Regions from separate parts of the Homo sapiens genome. Here region 2 is linked to region 1. The links are contacts of gene promoters, found by promoter capture Hi-C in blood cells and fetal thymus (Javierre and others, 2016). All regions are on one chromosome and are shown on one strand. The core of a region is centred on a gene start or on the middle of the fragment in contact, and the rest is flanking DNA. Distances in the headings are between cores, read along the strand shown. Region 1 holds the start of HSBP1 (heat shock factor binding protein 1). Region 2 holds the start of FOXC2 (forkhead box C2).

What was found. Contacts are between HindIII fragments. The CHiCAGO score rates a contact against its expected background, and 5 or more counts as called.
Region 2: a contact is called between the fragment with the promoter of FOXC2 here and the fragment with the promoter of HSBP1 in region 1, in 6 of 17 cell types (total CD8 T cells, naive CD4 T cells, total CD4 T cells and 3 more). The highest score is 10.8, in total CD8 T cells.

Annotation. Positions count from the first base shown.
Region 1 is chr16:83,806,563-83,809,660 of GRCh38, forward strand. HSBP1 (heat shock factor binding protein 1) reads left to right here and starts at 1,416. Exons shown (of 4, transcript NM_001537.4): 1 at 1,416-1,559; 2 at 2,118-2,184; 3 at 2,743-2,863. The coding sequence starts at 1,515. The coding sequence ends at 2,861. RefSeq lists an enhancer at 1,210-1,711 and silencers at 1,369-1,545, 1,563-1,852. The HindIII fragment of the contact is 4,790 bases long and covers 1-3,098 here.
Region 2 is chr16:86,565,374-86,568,471 of GRCh38, forward strand. It overlaps FOXC2 (forkhead box C2), which reads left to right and starts at 1,456. Exons shown (of 1, transcript NM_005251.3): 1 at 1,456-3,098. The coding sequence starts at 1,963. FOXC2-AS1 (FOXC2 antisense RNA 1) reads right to left here and starts at 2,388. Exons shown (of 2, transcript NR_125795.1): 1 at 2,244-2,388. RefSeq lists enhancers at 1,591-2,175, 2,176-2,759. The HindIII fragment of the contact is 11,287 bases long and covers 1-3,098 here.

The sequences.
Region 1 (3,098 bases), core at 166-2,665:
CTCATGCCTCAAGGCCAACTGGATTCCGGGTTTGTTAGAGACACTGGTGGGTCTGGCAGAGGCGTTTGAACAAGAGCAACTCCATCTCGAATAGGAGCTGGGTAAACTGAGGCTGAGAACTACTGGGCTGCATTCCCAGACAGTTAAAGGATTCTAAGTCACAGGATGGGATAGGAGGTCAGCACAAGGTACAGGTCATAAAGACCTTGCTGATAAAACAGCTTGCGGTAAAGAAGCCGGCCAAAACCCACCAAAACCAAGATGGCAATAAGAGTGAACCCTGCTTGTCTTCATTGCTACACTCCCATTACCGCTATGACAGTTTACAAATGCCATGGCAACGTCAAGAAGTTACGCTATATAGTCTAAAAAGGGGAGGCATGAATCACCCACCCCTGGTTTAGCATATAATCAAGAAATAACTATAAAAATGAGCAACCAGCAGCCCTCAGGGCTCTGTCTATGGAGTAACCATTCTTTTATTCCTTCATTTTCTTAAACTTGCTTTCACTTTACAGACTCGCCCTGAATTCTTTCTTGCATGAGATCCAAGAACCCCCTCTCTTGGGGTCTGGATCAGGACCCTTTCCCGTAACAGCTCTAACACCTTACAGCCTCTCCCTAGCTAAAGTCAAACTGGAGCTGACCCCTCACATAGCACAGTCCTTAAATGAGATGTGTGAAAGTTTCCAGAACATGCCAGGCCCGCAGTCAAGGACTCTCCTATCCCCTTGCCATGAGACCCAATCCTAAAGACCACCTGTGGGGTTGGAACTTGAGGTTCCAAATCAGCAGTGCCCACCTCCTTCAACACCCAAACCCACAGTCTAACCCTGATGCCGGAAGCCTTCCCCACTCAACAGCAGGCATTGCGTGGAGTGAAAGAAGCCAGGCATGATGGACAGCTTCCTGTCTGAATCCCCTCATATGAACCTGACGGGCACAATGAACCTACTGGGCTAAACTCCAGACGCTGGCCACCTTCATAGGGTGGAGATGACAGAACAGGACAGGAGCCATGGGGCTCCCGGGGCGGGTAGGGGTGGGTCATGTTCCTTGGCTTGGGGGCAGTTACAAGGGTACAGTGGGGCTTGTTGAAGGGCAAAAGTTCTGTAAGTTCGTCCCGACAGGCCAAAGAAACCCCAGAGCCGTCTTTCGACTGACTACAGCCTGGAAGAGAGGCCAAGACCACTCCCTGCCTCTATTGCTCCATTTCTGAGTTGGTCTCACTTTCCACCCCACTGACGGCGCGCTGCGTGAGGGGCGGGGCATAGAGGGAGGGGAGGGGCTATGCGAAAGAAGGCGGGGAGAGTGGGGTGGGGCCGCTCCTTGGAACGGAAGCGCGCGGCCTCGAGGCCCTTCCGGTGCGGGAGAAACTACTACTCCCATAATGCCCCGCGGTCCCGCGAGCTGCCAGTCTCGTCGCGAGAAGCAGCGGCCCGGGGCGACTGAGCGGACAAACGGAAGTGTAGGTTACGGTCTGAGACATCACCGCCAAGCTGGGCATCGGGGAGATGGCCGAGACTGACCCCAAGACCGTGCAGGACCTCACCTCGGTGGTAAGGGACGGCTGTGAGGGCCGGAGGCCGCGGCCTTCCCGGGCGGCGCCGGGCCAAGCCCTGCTGGACAGAGGCGCGCCCACCGCGGCCGCGCGTGGCGTCTGCCGAGGCCCCGTTTCTGGAAGCGTCTCTGGCCGAGGCTCCCGGCCACCTTGACCCCCGGGGCGCTCGGTGCGGGCCAGTCTCCCCGCGGGCGCCCCCAAGCCCGACCCCTTCCAGTAGCCCCATTCATCTGTCGCGAACGCCCTCCGGGTCCCTCCCGCCTACCTCTGACACCCTCCCCGCCCTTCAACTCCTCACACACCCCCGGGTGCCCCAGCCCGGCAGAAACAACCTAAAGACCCTGAGCTTTGAGTCGCAGCGGCCTCCCCAGCCCAGCAGTCTAATTGGACAGGTTGGAAAACGGAAGCCCAGAGAAGGAAGATCTTGCTGAAGGCCGCACAGCTGTCCAGAGGCAGAAATGGGGCTGGAACCCCGGGACCAGGGCTTGCGTCCTGATCCCAGGAAGTTGTCTCAGGATCGATGTGGACCGTGTTTGTTTGTTTCGGTTTTTCTTAGGTGCAGACACTCCTGCAGCAGATGCAAGATAAATTTCAGACCATGTCTGACCAGATCATTGGGAGAAATATCCTTTTTATCTGCAGTCGGCCTCCTGTGGGCCTTTGGAGCCTATTTGCCGGGCAGTGGTGGGGATAAATGAGTAGTTTTCAGGCTAGCTTCAGCCATTCACTTGTAGAATTTGAGCTTGGATTGTACTGTGTTTCTGAGAAGGACTGCGCCGAGAGCTAGGGGCAAAGCTGAGTTAGACTCCTGGCTCAAGGAGCATACGTCTACCAATCCTAATAGCTGGTGTGGTGGACCATGCACTGTGAACTAAGCGCTTTTGTGTGTGTCTTTTGATGCTCAGCATGACCTTATGAGTGGGTTGTAGTGTTATCATCTTTAGCAAATGAATAAATTGAGGTTTAGGGGTTCCATCACTAGTAAGGGTCAGGGCTGGAATCCGATGCGGGGTAGCCATGCCCCACAGTCCTGTACTCTTACCCACCAGCGTGTAACAGTGTCGAAAGAAAATTGGAAGACCAGTTTCCCTAAAGTCGTTGTGTTTAAGGCTGTAGTCTGCAGGGACGGGAGGAAAAAGGCTCAATGAGATGTTGGCACGCGTTGTCTTTAACTTCAGCACTTGATGATATGAGTAGTCGCATTGATGATCTGGAAAAGAATATCGCGGACCTCATGACACAGGCTGGGGTGGAAGAACTGGAAAGTGAAAACAAGATACCTGCCACGCAAAAGAGTTGAAGGTGAGGAAGGGGGCAATTTTTTTTTTCTTTTCTTTTCTTTTTTTTTTTTTTTTTTTTTTTGACACGGAGTTTTGCTCTTGTTGCCCAGGCTGGAGTGCAATGGCACGATCTCGGCTCCCTGCAACCTTTGCCCTCCTGGGTTCAAACGATTGTCCTGCCTCAGCCTCCCGAGTAGCTGGGATTACAGGCTTGTGCCACCACACCCAGCCAATTTTGTATTTTTAGTAGAGACGGG
Region 2 (3,098 bases), core at 206-2,705, 2.8 Mb after region 1:
CTTCCAAAATTCTGCCCGTGTTTAGCCTTGTTAAAGGGGTGTCTCACTCCTTCAGGGAAAGTGGGAAAAGGGGATCTGATTATTGAGGTGTGGAAGGAATAAATAATCAGTCCACAAATAAACAAACTGTCCGGGATTCCTAGAGGGAAGGAGAAATCCTTGAAGGAGATCCAAGTCGCTCCAGGTCTGCCTGCCGAATAATATCATCCCGAAGGGATCTTGAACCGTTTGCAATCAACCGCTCACCCAGTCTTCCCACGGAGCGCGCTCCCTAACTCACCCTACCCACCCAACAAAACAAAAAAAAGGCTGAAATATAGAAAAGCAACTTGGAGGCTCCCAGGGGGACGTTGCCAGGAGCAGGAGGCAGGGACAGCGCCCTAGGGTCGGTGTTAGCGGCCGGCGCCGGCCTGGGCCACGGGAAACGTCCACGCTTGGTGCCCGCGGTGCGCGGCGCTCATTGCGCGCGCCTTCGAGCCAAGCCCCCGCGGAAAACAGGCTCGGGTTTCTCCTCGCAGGGCCCAGGAACTCGGCTCTGCCTGGCCCGGGTGGGTCGCTGCATTGTCCCGGTCTTCTGGGAGTGCGGGGTCAGCTTGTTAGAGGGAATTTCTACCTGGGAAAAGGGAGACGAGTTTCGAAGCTGAAGTTGGTAGGCTGCGAGTGTCCACGCGGGAGACGAAAGGGGGAAATAGCAGAGTCACTTCACCCTTTTCCCCAAACCCCACAAAACTGCTCGCAGCGACGCGGATGATCTACCGAATTCCCCGCGAATTCGGAGGATTAAGTTGTCAGTCAGCACGTTGCTACCTTCCCCTCTATGCACTCCGCTGCCTGGCTCCTCGGCGGGGAGCGAGGGAAACTCAGTTTGTAGGGTTTACCTCTAAAACCTCGATAGGTTATCCTTGACGACCCCGAGCCTGGAAACTCCCTGTTGATGATTAATTATTTGATTAAATAAGTATAACATCCAGGAGAGGCCCTGCCATTCCAATCCAGCGCGTTTGCTTTGAATCCATTACACCTGGGCCCCCATAATTAGGAAATCTAATTATTCGCTTCATCACTCATTAATAAGAAAAATGTCCCAGGATCATTGCTACTTACAAGGTCTTTGGGAGAGATATTTTACTCTATTAATCCATTCTATTTTATATTTCAAATTGATTTTTTTTAACAGAGGAAAGTGGCTATCTTTTTGTTTTGGGCATGTGGGCCCATTCACCAAAATGTGATCATAAAATAAATTTTAATAAGATATAACTTTTTAAAAAGTTTTCAAGTGAAGACGGAGTCGCCGCGGAGGCCGGGGCGGCGGGGTCTTAGAGCCGACGGATTCCTGCGCTCCTCGCCCCGATTGGCGCCGACTCCTCTCAGCTGCCGGGTGATTGGCTCAAAGTTCCGGGAGGGGGCGTGGCCCGAGGAAAGTAAAAACTCGCTTTCAGCAAGAAGACTTTTGAAACTTTTCCCAATCCCTAAAAGGGACTTGGCCTCTTTTTCTGGGCTCAGCGGGGCAGCCGCTCGGACCCCGGCGCGCTGACCCTCGGGGCTGCCGATTCGCTGGGGGCTTGGAGAGCCTCCTGCGCCCCTCCTCGCGCGGGCCGAGGGTCCACCTGGGTCCCCAGGCCGCGGCGTCTCCGCTGGGTCCGCGGCCGCCCGCCTGCCCGCGCTGCCGCCGCCGGGTCCTGGAGCCAGCGAGGAGCGGGGCCGGCGCTGCGCTTGCCCGGGGCGCGCCCTCCAGGATGCCGATCCGCCCGGTCCGCTGAAAGCGCGCGCCCCTGCTCGGCCCGAGCGCCGCCGCCCGCGCACCCTCGCCCCGGAGGCTGCCAGGAGCCCGGGGCCGCCCCTCCCGCTCCCCTCCTCTCCCCCTCTGGCTCTCTCGCGCTCTCTCGCTCTCAGGGCCCCCCTCGCTCCCCCGGCCGCAGTCCGTGCGCGAGGGCGCCGGCGAGCCGTCTCGGAAGCAGCATGCAGGCGCGCTACTCCGTGTCCGACCCCAACGCCCTGGGAGTGGTGCCCTACCTGAGCGAGCAGAATTACTACCGGGCTGCGGGCAGCTACGGCGGCATGGCCAGCCCCATGGGCGTCTATTCCGGCCACCCGGAGCAGTACAGCGCGGGGATGGGCCGCTCCTACGCGCCCTACCACCACCACCAGCCCGCGGCGCCTAAGGACCTGGTGAAGCCGCCCTACAGCTACATCGCGCTCATCACCATGGCCATCCAGAACGCGCCCGAGAAGAAGATCACCTTGAACGGCATCTACCAGTTCATCATGGACCGCTTCCCCTTCTACCGGGAGAACAAGCAGGGCTGGCAGAACAGCATCCGCCACAACCTCTCGCTCAACGAGTGCTTCGTCAAGGTGCCCCGCGACGACAAGAAGCCCGGCAAGGGCAGTTACTGGACCCTGGACCCGGACTCCTACAACATGTTCGAGAACGGCAGCTTCCTGCGGCGCCGGCGGCGCTTCAAAAAGAAGGACGTGTCCAAGGAGAAGGAGGAGCGGGCCCACCTCAAGGAGCCGCCCCCGGCGGCGTCCAAGGGCGCCCCGGCCACCCCCCACCTAGCGGACGCCCCCAAGGAGGCCGAGAAGAAGGTGGTGATCAAGAGCGAGGCGGCGTCCCCGGCGCTGCCGGTCATCACCAAGGTGGAGACGCTGAGCCCCGAGAGCGCGCTGCAGGGCAGCCCGCGCAGCGCGGCCTCCACGCCCGCCGGCTCCCCCGACGGCTCGCTGCCGGAGCACCACGCCGCGGCGCCCAACGGGCTGCCTGGCTTCAGCGTGGAGAACATCATGACCCTGCGAACGTCGCCGCCGGGCGGAGAGCTGAGCCCGGGGGCCGGACGCGCGGGCCTGGTGGTGCCGCCGCTGGCGCTGCCCTACGCCGCCGCGCCGCCCGCCGCCTACGGCCAGCCGTGCGCTCAGGGCCTGGAGGCCGGGGCCGCCGGGGGCTACCAGTGCAGCATGCGAGCGATGAGCCTGTACACCGGGGCCGAGCGGCCGGCGCACATGTGCGTCCCGCCCGCCCTGGACGAGGCCCTCTCGGACCACCCGAGCGGCCCCACGTCGCCCCTGAGCGCTCTCAACCTCGCCGCCGGCCAGGA